3 separate regions of the Homo sapiens genome follow, and all the other regions are linked to region 1. The links are contacts of gene promoters, found by promoter capture Hi-C in blood cells and fetal thymus (Javierre and others, 2016). All regions are on one chromosome and are shown on one strand. Each heading gives the region's core, a stretch centred on a gene start or on the middle of the fragment in contact. The rest is flanking DNA. Distances are from core to core; before and after follow the strand shown. Region 1 holds the start of FNDC9 (fibronectin type III domain containing 9). Region 2 holds the start of HAVCR2 (hepatitis A virus cellular receptor 2). Region 3 has its middle 8.6 kb from the start of MED7.

Region 1 (5,140 bases), core at 1,648-4,147:
TAGTCTATAGACACATTTGTACAAACGACCTACTGTGTGGAAAGCTTTAGGCTACATGATGCGGGCGCTCTCCTCCCCACTCTCATTCCCCACAATGAGGCAGTATAGCGGGTGGGTCACCACCCCCCCTCTGTAAGGCACCCGCATCAGGGGCATCCTGGTTGGCTTCGGGATCCAGTTCAGCTCCATCTCTGGAGTTCTTGCGTGGCATTTCCACCAGGGGGAGCCCCTGCAGGTCTTCCTCCCTCTGACCAAGATCCGGGGCCTCCTCTGGCCATCTCACCAACCCATTGGCCTCCTCCATGTGGCCAGCCCTGTAAGACCATCGCGGCTCATGGCAACGGACACACCAGAACTGGAGGCAGATGAAGGCCAAGACGGCTGTGAAGCAGGCCAGCAGAATGGCCATCAGCACCCAAAGGGAGATCTGGGGGTCTACCAGGGAGCTTCCAGGAGCCAGCGGACTCTTATCCAGGGTGTGGAACATGGTGCAGTAGTGCCTGTAAGGGAAGGCAGCCTTCTTACAGCTGATGCACAGGAAGTAGAGAGTGGAAGGGGCAAGATGTTCCAGCACCACGGAGCTGATCGTTCGAGGCACCTTCTCCTCGTGGTGGAAGCTGTAGCGAAGATAGCCAGAGAAGATGCTGTTCCAGTTGGGCCTGTACATAATATGGTAATAGTCCTCCAGGCAGGGCTCCGAGGACGACCAGGAGATGATGGCTCCTGTATAAGAAATGTTCCCCACCTCGATGTTCATCCCGATTCTGGAACCAGAATCAAAGTGAAGAGTGACATCCCCTGATTTAAGTATGTATTTATCATAATCATAGCCACCATTTATTGCACATTTGAGACGGGCACTCATGTTGCCCTCATCTTACAGACAAAGAAATGGAGGCCGAGAGGTTCTGTTATTTAGGCATAGCGAAAAAGTGGCAGGACAAAAGTTAAAACTGGGGCTGTCCCATGCCAAAGTTCAGGCCTAAGAACAGATGCACCCATGCAATCCCAGCCACATCCCACCCTAGCTGAGATCCTTCAGATAACAAAGGGGATTTTCTTAAGGGGATTGTTCTCATCCCCTTAAGAAAAAAGAAGAAAAGGTAAGGAGAAATCAGTAGAACCTCAGAGGCTCCACCTTTATTCTCAGGTCTGTGACCTCCCCTCAGGCAATTGATTCACCTCAATTTTCCTTCTTGACCTCCTGTTTCTGCTCCAAGTACTGTGAGCTCAGTGATCTAGAACATTCTGCCCACTGCTTTTTTTAGCCTCCTGGTTCTGTTGCCCATGGTGAGTGGAAATTCGCTTCGTCACTCTTTGGCAGCTGATCTCACCCCAAAGCTTCTGCTCTTGTTTTGTTTGTTTGTTTTTTCAAAGCCAGCGGTACCAGGAAATTTATTTTATGGGTGAAGATAATCAGCCCCTAATATCAGCATAACTACCACTATTTAATTCTGCTGTTATTATGAATGTTAATCATGGTAATAACCACTCACAGTAAGTGGTTGCTATGTCACTTGTCATGCTAGATGATTCACAGGCAGTAATTAATTTCCTTTATTCTTCATCACATCCTCTGAGCTAGATTCCCATTTTACGGATGAGCAACCTGATGTCACACCGCTAATACGTAGAAAAAGGACTTAGTGCCGCCTAACCACTACATTTCCTAATGCAAGGCTGCCGGGTTTAGTTACAGACGTTATCGCAAAATGAGGTGCCAGGACTGAGACCCAGTTGCTGTTTTTCCAGACAAATCAAATGAGCCCTCTTTAGATTGCCAGGCCCCGCTTTGATAAGAGAGAGCCATCTTCAAGTATTTTAGTTTCTCTCATGCAGTTCCCTCTACTGATTGCCCCTGATCAGAAATACAGAGACAGTCATAGTCAGCCTACGCATATTCACATAACAGTCTCACCCTGCTTTGTCTTCCGCCTCTCCTCCCTCACATGAAACCCCGTAGGTTTCATTTTGGGTTGCAGTGACATAGTAAACAGCTGTCAACTGGATTTTCGCCTGCATTGGATATTAAGCCAAACCAATGGCTATTATGACCTGCCTTTCTCTCACCTCTGCTTTCCCCCATCCTCTTGTGTTTGTGCCCATTTTCCTCCAGGAGTGGAGCTGCAGAAAGGTGCACAGCATTGAGTAGTTTCTTAATCCTTGTTTTTCTTCTGTAAGGGTAACAGTGAACTAAGATACTCAGGAAGGTGAATAGTGTCTTTCTATGTGGCTGAATATTTCTTCCCAGTAAATAGGGAACGAAAGGGATGAGACGGATGTGCTCAGACCCTTCCAGGGAAGGTCATCATGAAGGAGACCGAATGTTTATGTTTCCTAGCTTGGTGTCCTCTACACACTCATCCTCCCCACACCACACATCACTATAAATACACTTTCGACCACGATGAAAAGAGCTTAATTCATTATAGGCAGCCACCTGTGTAAAACCTTTCCATCAGGAGTAATCAGGAATCCTGTTTCTTGTCACGCACAAATGTTCTCTTGGCTTCCTATCTGCCACTAGCTGTCTGTACAGATGGAATTACCTCAGCAGACATTTTTAAGAGCTTTCTGTCAAGACGCAAATAGCATCCTCACCTTTTAGGACCAGGTCCGTCTCCCTTATTGATTTTTCTTCCTCTGTTTCCGTTTCTAAATTCTCCCCTATTTTTAACTATTCATTTGCCCGGCCCTTCTCCAAGCAGAGTGTGAAAAGAAGCCATTTCCATTTCCAAGAAGAGCCATCTATATGTCTTACCTGATGCTTGCAGCGTGTCTGGTTAGAGCTCTGCCCTCCGAGGTGCAGTAGATTAAAGCTGAGAGAATGGGGCCTTCTCCCTCCTCTGCTCTGGGCTTTCCGTGTTGTTTCTCTCAACACTGAGTAATCCCACTGCCGCCCCTAATGCTCACATTATTCATTTCTTCAGATCAGCATCATTCACCATGGCAACCAGCAGGCATCTGTACGCACGATGCTTTCAGGGACCAGCCTGGAAAGGCTTTTGCCCAGTGAGAGGAGCTCTCATTCCTTTGGCTGAAAAAGGGCAGATGATCCCCTGAAAACTGGTCCCCAGTGCAGTACTAATTCTTCTAACACTCCTACATTTTCTCCCCAGTTGGCTGATTATTATTTTCTTGTCCCATCTAGATCCTCTTTGGCCAATGGTTTTAAATGCAAAGATGCTTTTCTCAGTTATTCCACAACCAAAGCAGTAATATTCATCTTCATCCCCTCCCACCCCTACACTTCCCCATCCCAACTGCCTACCCCACCTCTTTATCTTCATCTTTCTTTATTCTTGACTCATGTGCCATTACATAGTTATATGGTACTGGTCAAGACCCTTTTATTTTTATTGTCTGAGTCTCAGTTCCACCATCATCTGTAAAGCTGTGGGCTTGGGCTACATCAGGATGGCAGATCAGAAGGCAGAAGACCTGAGCCCTATCCCTGCACAGCCCTGAACCCCTGTCAAGCTTGCTAAACCATCATGGCACTCTCACTGGGTTGAATAATGCCCCCCCAAAATACATATCCATCCAGAACCTTAGGATGTGACCTGATTTAGAAATAGAGCCTTCGTAGATATAACTAGTTAAGGATCTCAAGATGAAATCTTCCTGGATTTAAGGGTGAGCCCTAAATCCAATGACTAATGTCTTTGTAAGAGAAAAGACAGAGAGACTCAAGGGGAAGAAGCCAAGGGAAAACAGAGGCAGAGAGTGGAAGGATGCTGCCATCAGCCAAGGAACACCGGGAGCCATCAGCAGCTGGGAAGGCAAGGAAACATTCTCCCCTAGAGCCTTGGAGAGGGCATGGTTCTGCGAGAGCCTTGATTTCAGGCTTCTGGTCTCCAGAACTGTGAGAGAATAAATTTCTGTCATGTTAAGCTGCCACATTTATGGTAATTTGTGATAGCAACCCTAGGAATCTAATGCAGCACTGCTTCCAGCTGGGTGCAGAAACAGCCCCAGAGTTCCTCTGAACACAAGCGTCCCAAGAAACTGCTTCCCAATCAATCAGTTGGAGTTGACGCCAGAAATGGAAACTGTTTGCTACTCCTGGATTGAATCATCCCCAGCGTTCCTTTCCTTTCAAGAATCCAGACTGCTTGCCTCCCCTTTTCTCATAAAGGGCCGTCTGGCTTTGAGGTTCCATCCCTTCCTGTTCCTTTCAACCTTGTAAGAACCCATTGCCACCATTCTATTGAGATCACAGGGTGTGTCTGGAATAGAGGGTGGAAAGTAGCTCAGATAGATGTAGACCTGAATAAATTTATACACATTATATGTTTTTAAAAGTCAGCTTTTCTCTTCTTGGTTCTTGGCCAAAGTATCCAAGTTAACCCATGAAGGTCTCTTTCTGATTCACATTAATGATAAAAGGTTAGGAAGAAAGCCAGGCACAGCTGCAGTGGTGTGCACCTGTAGTCCCAGCCACTTGGGAGGCTGAGGTGGGAGGATCACTTGAGCTTAAGAGTTCCAGACCAGCCTGGGTATTATAGAAAGACTTTTTCCCTTGGAAAAAAAAAAAAAAAAGAGCCGCCTTGGTGAGTTGTGACCCTACCCTTGGCCAAAGGTCTCCGGGAGGCTTGGAGTCTTGGGAACTCGGGAACAAGCCAGTGTTCCTTGATCAGAAAGTTGCTCTGCAGCTTGCCCATGGCATTCAGTCTTCCCAGGCGCCTGTCTTAAATCTGCAGCAATGCATGCAGCATGTCTCTTCCCATGCGAGCACAGCCAGGTCAAGTGCTAATGGTGAGTCCCCACGGAGCATAAAAGCATCCTCCCCACAGAAAGGCCACGCAGCTGTTTGCAGATGCCCTTTGAAAAGGTTATTTTGCGGGGAGTAAAAATACCAGAGTTAAGGGGTCTGAGGAGGAACAAGGTAGAACTCAAGCCTTTTTCCACAGAAAATTGGAATTTATTTTTAATATTCTTGGATGACATTTTTAACCAAGAGAAATTTTCCACTGTGGAATTAAGATACTCAGAGAATGTGAGGCCTCCAAGCCCTCTTGTTTCACAGTCCTGGGAGAAGACATGGCATTCCTCAGACCGCTTGACTGATGAGTGGCAGAGCTGCCAGTGAAATGGGGTGGGGCCCCAGACTCGGAGGCGGAGGCCAGGGTTCATCCCG
Region 2 (5,140 bases), core at 1,048-3,547, 240 kb before region 1:
TCCACCACTTCCCTCTTTTCAAACACTATTTCAGGTGCACGGAGATATCCATGCCTCCACTCTCACACTGTTTTCTCATCTTTTTTTCCCACATTCAAAATCCTCTGAATTCAGAGCCAGCTAAAGATTCCCTCCTCTGCCCCATGCATAGTTACCTGGGCCATGTCCCCTGGTGGTAAGCATCCTTGGAAAGGCTGCAGTGAAGTCTCTCTGCCGAGTCGGTGCAGGGGTGACCTTGGCTAATGTCAGAAACAACATAAGGATGAAAATTATCTGAGAGCAGAAAGCTTATTTCAGGGAATCAAAGGGGCAGCAAGAAAAAAATGCGAAAGACAATTAAGAAAGAGAAATACACCCTCAGCTTCCAAACCTGCCTGGATACCTACGTTGAGAGTGTATCACACACTTCAAATGTTTGACAAAGGTAAGATGCAGTCATCATTGTTACATTCTGATTATTAATAGCGGAACTAACAGCCACACAAATGGCCATAATTACAGGTTGAAGACTCCTTATCTGAAATGCTTGAGATCAGAAATGTTTTAGATTTTGAATTTTTTTTTTTTTTTTGAAACGGAGTTTTGCTCTTGTTGCCCAGGCTGGAGTGCAATGGCATAATCTCGGCTCACTGCAACCTCCGCCTCCTGGGTTCAAGCAATTCTCCTGCCTCAGACTCCTGAGTAGCTGGGACTACAGGCATGTGCAACCACACCTGGCTAATTTTGTATTTTTAGTAGAGACAGGGTTTCTCCATGTTGGTCAGACTGGTCTCGAACTCCCGACCTCAGGTGATCCACCCACCTCAGCCTCCCAAAGTGCTGGGATTATAGGCATGAGCCACCACGCCCAGCCATGTTTTTATTTTTTTATTTTTTAGTATCTGCCTATACTTATGTTCCAATGAGCTTTTCCTTTGAATGTCATGTCAGTGTCCAAAAAGTTTTGGATTTTAGAGCATTTCAGATTTTGGTGCATTTTAGGTTTTAGATTTTCAGATTTGGGATGCCCAACCTATAAAGGCTTTTAATAAAATATTATCACATAAAATCCTTCTAATGGCCCACATGATCGGTATTATTGTCATATTTTATAGAAGAGGAGCTCACAGCGTTTCAATAACTTGCTCAGGATTATATAGCTAGTAAGAGGCAGAGTTAGATGTAAACTCAGCTCTATCTGGGCACAAAGTACATGTTATAGAAATCTTAAGTCTGTTCACCTCCCAGCATACATGCATAACCCAGCAGTTCACCATGCTGGCTGCACCTGGGGTAAAATCACCTGAGGTAGACTCTGTAAAAAGCTAATGCTTAGCATCTACCTCCAGAGATGCTGATTTCTCTGGTTTTTGGTAGTGGGGTTTTTTCTTCTGCTTTTTAAGAGATAGGGGTAGCCACAGTATATCAGCCAGGCTGGTCTCAAACTCCTGACCTCAAGTGATCCTCCTGCTTCAGCCTCTCAAAGTATTGGGATTATAGGCATGAGCCACTGTACCTGGCATCTATAGTTGTTTAAAAACTCTCTATGTGATTCTAATGAGAGTCAGGGTCTCTAACCACTGATCTAGGCCTTTCATCCCATCTATACATTCCACCCATGAGTTTTGGCTTTTCTTTTCTTTTCTTTTTTTTTTTTTGAGACAGAGTTTCACCCTTGTCAGCCAGGCTGGAGTACAATGGCGAGATCTTGGCTTACCACAACCTCCGACTCCCAGGTTCAAGTGATTCTCCTGCTTCAGCCCCCCAAGTAGCTAGAATTACAGGCTCCCGTAACCATGCCTGGCTAATTTTTTGTATTTTTAGTGGAGACAAGGTTTTACTATGTTGGCCAGGCTGGTCTCGAATTCCTGACCTCATGATCCACCGGCCTCAGCCTCCCAAAGTGCTGGGATTAGAGGTGTGAGCCACCACGCCCAGGCACACCCATGAGTTTTAAAACAGAGAGAAGGTGTTAAATATCACTGAGCATCACCAATGGGGCCTGTTAAACTTTAGGTCTTAGTGGCCCTCCTCCAGGGCTATAATTAGGGAAGTCAGAGATGAGAACAATCAGTACCTTTAATATGATCCACAGATAAATCTTATTCATAAAGATGGCATGCAAATGTCCACTCACCTGGTTTGATGACCAACTTCAGGTTAAATTTTTCATCATTCATTATGCCTGGGATTTGGATCCGGCAGCAGTAGATCCCACTGTCTGCTAGAGTCACATTCTCTATGGTCAGGGACACATCTCCTTTGCGGAAATCCCCATTTAGCCAGTATCTGGATGTCCAATAATTCACATCCCTTTCATCAGTCCTGAGCACCACGTTGCCACATTCAAACACAGGACAGGCTCCTTTGCCCCAGCAGACGGGCACGAGGTTCCCTGGGGCGGCTGGGGTGTAGAAGCAGGGCAGATAGGCATTCTGACCGACCTCCGCTCTGTATTCCACTTCTGAGGACCCTGCATAGAGAGAGAAGGAGAGCCAAGACTCAAGCGGTGAGTGAGGTTACTCCATTTCAGGAAAACTGCAAGCCATGTCTTACAGAATAAAGAGGAAGCTACTGCTGCAGTCCTGTTTGGAGGATGATTCGCTGTGACAATGCTTCTCAGATGTGAAGGCCATCAGAATCACTGGGAAGCCTTGCGAAAACACAGATTGCTGGGCTCAACTGCTAGAGTTCCTGACTCAGTTGGCCTGTGGTAGAGCCTGAGAACTTTTATTTCTAACAAGTTCTCAAGTGTTGCTGAAGTGGCTGGTCTCAGAACCTCACTTTCAGAAACACTGCCCTAGGAGAGAATTGTGGCCCAATTCTGTGAACACGGGAGAACAGGGCTGATGGAAACAGACAATCAGAAAATTAGTCATGGTCAGCCAGGAAACGGCCCGCCCATCTGGGCTACTTGCTTGTTCATCAACAAAGGGAGGCTCTCCTAACATACTTCTCTTTTTAAGCAGCAAGTGCACAGTAAATACAAACCCTTGGTTAAATAAGGATCTTGTGTATTTGAAACTACTCATGGAGTTGTTTTAAGGTTTAAAGTTGTGAAAAGAAATTAAATTTTGGGACCCCAAACTCATTCAGTCAAAGGGAAAAGTCAAGCTGGGAACTGGGTCACAGAAACCTGCCTCCTCTTTTTGATTCCTGAATAAGATGGCTACAGGATGAAAGGCTGCATACCTCCCCCATATTTTGCCCACAAGGAAATTCCTGGTCAGCTGTGCAATGCAGATTGATAGCTCATCTTTACCGGTGCGGTCACCCTGGCCAGACACAAATGCGTTATCTGATTGTTTCCCTACCCCATTTTGTCTGTGTTATCTAATGTAAAATGCAGATTCCCCATATTTTTCCTCTGCCCCCCCCCCTTTTTTATGTGAAAACTGAGTGCTTCTCAATATCCCACCTTGTCCCCTTTAAATCTGGAGCCCTCAAAATCATCTTCTGAGAAAGTCATAGACCTGTCTCTCAGGTGCCTCCTTAACTTTGGCAAACAAATCTCCTAAAATGATTGAGACTTGTCTCCTCATTTTCCTCAAATGACAAAGTTAATTCCATTAAAAAAAAACTATATATATTTTATATATGATAAAACATTCATTATATATTTTCTTTTGATTTTTTATGTCCCCTTTGTTTTCATATGACTCAACTACAGTAAAAACATTCAAACACTATCAAAGGTGTATGAAAAAGTGGCCGGGCACACGGTGGGTCACGCCTGTAATCCCAGCACTTTGGGAGGCTGAGATGGGCAGATTACTTGAGGCCATGAGTTTGAGACCAGCCTGACCAACATGGTAAAACCCTGTCTCTACTAAAAATTAAAAACATTAGCTGGGTGTGGTGGTGCACGCCTGTGATCCCAGCTACTCCGGTGCCTAAGGCAGGAGAATCACTTGAACCTGGGAGGCGGAGATTGCAGTGAGCCAAAATGGTGCCACCACTGCACTCCAGCCTGGGCAATAGAGTGAGACTCCATCTCAATTGAAAAAAAGAAAAAGAAAGAAAAGAAAAAGAAAAAAAGGAAAGAAAAGAAAAGAAAAATATGCCTTACTCTCCCAACTCTTTACCATTCCCTGGTTCCTTTTCCTAGAGCTTATACATTAAGAAATGTCCACATATTCCTGCTCCCCGACAATGCACACACACAAATAGAAGCCTAATATATGCATTATTCTGCAACTTTTTTTCTTTAATAACATTATAATTTTGAGACATTCTATACCAGTATGTTTTGTCAGACTCACTGTTTGTATCATGATTATATCACATTTATTTACCCACTCCCTCATCGACGGACATTTAGGTTGCTTCCAAGCTTTTGCTATTACAAACAACATTACAATGGCCATCCTTGTATCTCTCCCTTGTCCTCTGTACAGCACCATTATGTCATTGTAAATATCCATGCCGAGACTTACTTGTAAGTAGTAGCAGCAGCAGCAGCAGGACACAGTCAAAGGGAAGATGTGAAAACATGGAGCTTGCAGAAGAAAAGTCAGAGGACACCTCTGTTAGGCACAGTTTTAACTCTCCAAATGGACTGGGTACTTCTTCCAACTGTCTACTCCACAATCACATGAGCAGTAGCCGCCCCCACTGAGTGCTAGCTCAGCACACCCGGGTGTCTGATTGCCAGTGATTCTTATAGTAACACTGCCAGGTCTACAGTCACATTAAAGGAAACCAAAGTTCTCTGTCATGCCACACTACACACATCCTGTAAGTGTTCTGATGTCTGTCCTGTGATATCAACAAAGAGGAAGCAATACTTCAGTGGAAGAAAACGCTACTCAGTCATGGCACATAAAGAGAACCCTCTAATAATGTCTCAGATGAGATACACCTGAAATGGAGCATGTCCGAGTCCATCTGACTAGCGGGGAACACAAAGTACAGATGCATCATCCATGGATTCATTCACTCAAATCAGTCCCTTCATCAGGCCTGTGACCAAAGTTTATGAAGCCCCTACTTTGCACCAGGCACTGGACTAGGAAGTGGAACACAACAGTGAATGGCATGTTCCTTATCCTCACATTTACAGACCATAGCAACTCCCAGCATAAGCCTCACTCTCATCCTTCTTCTAACACAGATTAGGTTGTATCCTATAACCTTGCTGAGTCTCAGTTTCCTCATTTAT
Region 3 (5,140 bases), core at 1,449-3,948, 210 kb before region 1:
TCCGCCTCCCGGGTTCACGCCATTCACCTGCCTCAGCCTCCCGAGTAGCTGGGACTACAGGCGCCTGCCATCACGCCCAGCTAATTTTTTGTATTTTTAGTAGAGACGGGGTTTCACCGTATTAGCCAGGATGGACCCGGCTAATTTTGTATTTTTAGTAGAGACATGATTTCACCATGTTGGTCAGGCTGGTCTATGAACTCCTGACCCCAGGTGATCCGCCTGCCTCGGCCTCCCAAAGTGCTGGGATTACAGGCATGAGCCACGCCGCCCAGCAGGAAGTTAATATACGAAACCGAGATATACAGCTGATTAAACAGTAGAGCCCTAGGATTCTGGGGTGTTTTCCAACACCAACCATTTCTCTAATTCAACAGACAAAGTACGTATCTAATGATTCAATTTAATTCTGACACTAACTACCCAGAGTTAAGTTAGGGTAAGCAGTACCTCTGAGTTTCTTCATTTTAGTCTACTCTGCAACCAGCTACAGCTCTTAAATCTGAGGTAAGAGTGCCACTTACTGGTAGCCTCATCACAACGCAACTTGAAACCCGCTCACAAATTTAATTCTAAGTGCCAGTGGCATGCAAAAGAAAAAAGGCTCAGTACGGTATGCATATATTAAAACATTACATTGTACCTCACAAATAAATAATTTGTCAATTAAAAATAAAATAAAACTTAAGTGCTTTGTAGCCATTCTCCTATTTAATCCTTGGATTAATCCTATGAAGAAGCTTCTGTAATTTATATTTCTGTGATTTTTTATTAGTAGCTTTGTGAAAACACTCCAAAGTTTAGAATCCAATTACCTACATCATAGCCCACCAGCCAAATCCAGCCTGCTGTCTGATTTTGTACTCTCACATCTAAGAATAATTGTACATGCTAAATAGTTGGAAAAAATCAGAATAATTCACATATGAAAATTATTGAAATTCAAAATTCAATGTCCATATAGAAAGCTGTATTGGAACCGAGCTCTCTTGTTTATGCATTGTCTATGGCTGCTTTCGACCCACAGCAGTTGAGTAGCTGCAATGGAAACTGTACAGTCCTCAATGCCTAAAATATTTACTAATTGAATCTTTACAAAAGAGTTTGCCAATTCCTGACCTAGATTCCAACCTGAGCAAACCTAAACTCTAATCCTCAATTTTCATTACTCATAAAATGGGGATAATACCTACTAAGAGTTTTTAGGAAGATTAGAATTATAAGCACAGAATCTCCTTAAGATACTCATAGAAGTCTAAGCTAAGACATAAGCACCTTAATATGTTCAAAGGGAACTCATAGTTTCCATCTATAAATCTGTTCAGCCCAGTATCAAGTAGTATTTGCAAGCATGGATTTTAGGGTCAAAATATTGGCTCCACTCTTGGTTTCGCTACTTACTTACCTACGTGACTTAGTAACAACATGAGGGAATGGAGAGGCAATGAAGTATGAAGGTTGAGTGTTCAGGCTTGGAAAACTAGAATGCCTAGTTTCCATCCTGGCTTTGCCACCCACTAGTCAGTTAACCTTGGGTAAATTACATAACTTCTCTGAGCCTCCACTTCCACATCTGAAATATGAGTGTAAAAAGAATACTGATTTCATTCAGTAGTTGTAAGGCTAAAATGACTTTATTTATACAAAGAGATTAAAACATTGCCAGCAACTTACAGCCATAAATACCATCAGATTTAGAAGGTTCTTCACAGGATTGTTCTAAGGATTAAATAAGAGAACAGCTACAAAGCACTTAGCACCATTTGCAGTACTTAGAAATCTATCAGAGTACAGCTAGTACCCTTCCTACTGATTCTCTGTATTTTAGTAAAATCTGATGAGAAATCAATTGCAAACATAATTTCTCATCAGATTTCAGATAAAAACCCAATTCCTTCCCTTGGTTCTCTAAATCATGCACATCTGTCCTCCACCTGCTTCTGAAGCTCCAACCTCCTCCCTCACCATATTGCAGCCATAGTAGCCTTTCTCATCCAAATTATGCCAACTTTCTATCTCCTCATGAGATATTTGCACCTGCCGTTCCCAGTAACCTCAGGGCTCAGTGCATGAGTTGAAGCTGCCTTTCTTTATGTTTTTGAGACATGGTCTCACTCTGTCACTCAAGCTGGAGTGCAGTGGCATGACTGTGGCTCACTGCAGCCTTGACCTCCTGGACTCCAGTGTCCCTTCTACTTCAGCCTCTGGAATGGCTGGAACCCGTCATGTGCCATCACATCCAGCGAATTTTTAAATATTTTTGTAGAGATGGGGTCTCCCTATGTTGCCCAGGCTGGTCTCGAACTCGTGGACTCAAGTGATACTCCTGCCTCAGTTTCTCAGTGATGGGATCACAAGTGTGAGTCACCGTGCCTAGCAAAGTTGCCTTCTAAATTCCTTAACAAATGTGAGGTTAGGCATGGTGGCTCACACCTGTAATCCCAGCACTTCGGGAGGCTGGAGGATTACTTGAGCTCAGGAGTTTGAAACCAACCTGGGCAACATAGTGAGACCTCATCTCTACTTAAAAAGAAAAAAAAAGTTTTAGGCCGGGCATGGTGGCTCACGCCTGTAATCCCAGCACTTTGGGAGGCCAAGGCAGGTGGATCACGAGGTCAGGAGATCGAGGCCATCCTGGTCAACATGGTGAAACCTCTTCTCTACTAAAAATACAAAACTTAGCTGGGCATGGTGGTGCACGCCTGTAGTCCCAGCTACTCGGGAGGCTGAGGCAGGAGAATCACTTGAACCAGGGAGTTGCAGGTTGCAGTGAGCCAAGATTGCGCCACTGCACTCCAGCCTGGTGACAGAGTGAGACTCCATCTCAAAAAAAAAAAAAAAGTTTTAAAAGACAAAAAAAAATGTACACATTCCTTGAAAAGGGAAGATAATGTGGACAAGGTGCTTTGAACAGGCAATAGGAACATAACTGGAAGCAAGATTCTTCTGAAGGTGCTGTAATGGCTGAGTGGTTAAGACACAAACTTATCACCTTCAAAAATTAACTCGTCTTATTATCTTTCTTACATTTTCCTTCGCCCTTCCCACACATCCAACAGTTAAACTAGTATCAGGCAGAGTGCAGACCACAGTAAGTATTCATCAAATGAATATCATGAATAAATGAATAGCTGGGGAAAAACTACTCTCATAAAGGGAATACAAATTTGTACAATCCGTTTATGTTTGTTATTTATATTAAGTTCACATGTGCCTGATTTGTAGTAGATCTCTCGTTATCGTTAGCTCAGCACCGCTTCCTTCCTCTGAGAGACAGACTGACTCTTCCATAAATAGACATAGCGGGGACTGTGAAATTCTTATGGGATCCAAGTCCCAGTTGATTTGCCCAGTTGCAATCAAGTATACAACCCCTAATTCCTCATGTCTAGCTCGTTAATTAACCTCCCCTCATTTTTTTTAAGTTTGCATTTGAGAGGGAACTCCCAGACAGTGGTAAACATAGAAATACTTAACCCTTAGGAACTGTCAGCTGCCATGTTCTCCACCTACATCATTAAAGAAGTTCATCTGTAAAGAGAATGAAGCTAACAGGAAAGATGGTCTCCAGGGCTACTAACTTAAAACTTCATCCACTTTCTGACCTTCTCATGGTTTATATATTCAACTTATCCTTCAATCAACATATCCCATATCCTTTCTTTTTTTAATTAAATTGTAAGAGAGAGAAGGTCTCACTATGTTGCCCCCATTGGTCTCAAATTCCTGAGCTCAAGTGATCCTCTCACATCAACCTCCCAAAGCACTAGGATTATAAGTGTGAGCCACCGTACCCAGCCCATACCCCATATCCTTTATATAAATTCATCTTTTTGCTTAAATTAGTTCAAGTAGGGTTTTTGTCAGCAGTAACAGAGCACTGATTAATGCAACATTCTGTAACCACTGCACAAGAGAATCATCTTCTGATTTCTTAAAACCAATGCTAGTACCCCAGTCCAAAAAATGAAATCAGAATCTCCGCAGTGTGGGACCTGGGCATTAGTCATTTCAAAAGCTGCTTAAAAAGGTGATCCTTCCAGATATTTCACTTCAATGAATCAATCTTTCAAGAATATTCATTATAAGTAGGTGTGCAGAGATATATTTTAACACAAGATTAAAAAGACCTTATATAAGGCCACTAGAGCTTTTTTTTCATTCCACTCTAATAGCAAGAGTTCATATCAGAACACTTTAGGAATTTATGTCAGGTCCTAGTCACAGACCTGCAAGATCAGATCCTCCCCAATGGCATTTTTTTTTCTAATTTGTTGTAGAGACACGGTCTCACTATGTTGCCTAGGCTAGTCTCAAACTCCTGACCTAAAACCATCCTCCTACCTCAGCCTCCCAAAGTGCTGGGATTACAGGCATAAGCCACTGTGCCTGGCCCCCCAGTGGCATTTTAATCCCTCAACGCCCCTCCCCCCAACACACACACGTTCATATATAAGTAGTGTTGTGGCTCTTATGTGATTCTGTTTTTTACATGCAAAGATTTTCAAAGTGGCCAAAAACTGGTTTTGCACCTCAACCCAACACCTTCCTCAAGGTTCTCAGAGTCAAAGAAAGAGAATTTTCTTTGGAGAGTTGTTCAAGTGCTAAGCAATTTCCACCTTTCTCCCTCACAAGGTGATGCTCCCTACTTCAATTTAAGCTTGAGAGCCTGAACTATGTCCTCTGGAGTCTCTGAGGCCCAAAGGTCTATACCAAACACATTACGTACCAGAAAAAAACAAAAGTTGAGACTAGCCAACCAACTGCCTATCTGATAAAGAAGTGTCTACCTAGGGATAACTTACAGTCCCTGGATCTGTGAAAGCACAGCATGCACATTTCATAGAGAACTGACCTATAGTCATACATATATACATACATACACATATATATATATATTTTAGACAGAGTTTTGCTGTCACCCAGGCTGGAGTGCAGTGGCACGATCTCGGCTCACTGCAACCTCCACCCCTTGGGTTCAAGGAATTCTCGTGCCTCAGCCTCCCGAGTAGCTGGGATTACAGGCGCCTGCCACTATGCCCGGCTAATTTTTGTATTTTTAGTACAGACGGGGTTTTGCCATGTTGGCCAGGCTGGTATCAAACTCCTGACCTCAAGCAATCCACCCACCTCAGCCTCC

What was found. The method cuts DNA at HindIII sites, captures the fragments that hold promoters and counts their contacts. A CHiCAGO score of 5 or more calls a contact.
Region 2: a contact is called between a fragment that was not itself captured here and the fragment with the promoter of FNDC9 in region 1, in 1 of 17 cell types (activated CD4 T cells). The highest score is 5.3, in activated CD4 T cells.
Region 3: a contact is called between a fragment that was not itself captured here and the fragment with the promoter of FNDC9 in region 1, in 3 of 17 cell types (activated CD4 T cells, non-activated CD4 T cells and total CD8 T cells). The highest score is 6.8, in activated CD4 T cells.

Annotation. Positions count from the first base shown.
Region 1 is chr5:157,342,780-157,347,919 of GRCh38, forward strand. FNDC9 (fibronectin type III domain containing 9) reads right to left here and starts at 2,898. Exons shown (of 2, transcript NM_001001343.4): 1 at 2,762-2,898; 2 at 1-764. The coding sequence starts at 757. The coding sequence ends at 83. The region is part of intron 23 of CYFIP2 (cytoplasmic FMR1 interacting protein 2); the gene reads left to right. The HindIII fragment of the contact is 2,139 bases long and covers 1,340-3,478 here.
Region 2 is chr5:157,104,511-157,109,650 of GRCh38, forward strand. HAVCR2 (hepatitis A virus cellular receptor 2) reads right to left here and starts at 4,534. Exons shown (of 7, transcript NM_032782.5): 1 at 4,416-4,534; 2 at 2,117-2,452; 3 at 156-239. The coding sequence starts at 4,473. RefSeq lists an enhancer at 4,321-4,470. The HindIII fragment of the contact is 4,025 bases long and covers 286-4,310 here.
Region 3 is chr5:157,131,679-157,136,818 of GRCh38, forward strand. No RefSeq gene overlaps it. Among named protein-coding and RNA genes, the nearest start is that of MED7, 8.6 kb to the right of the region's middle. The HindIII fragment of the contact is 3,920 bases long and covers 739-4,658 here.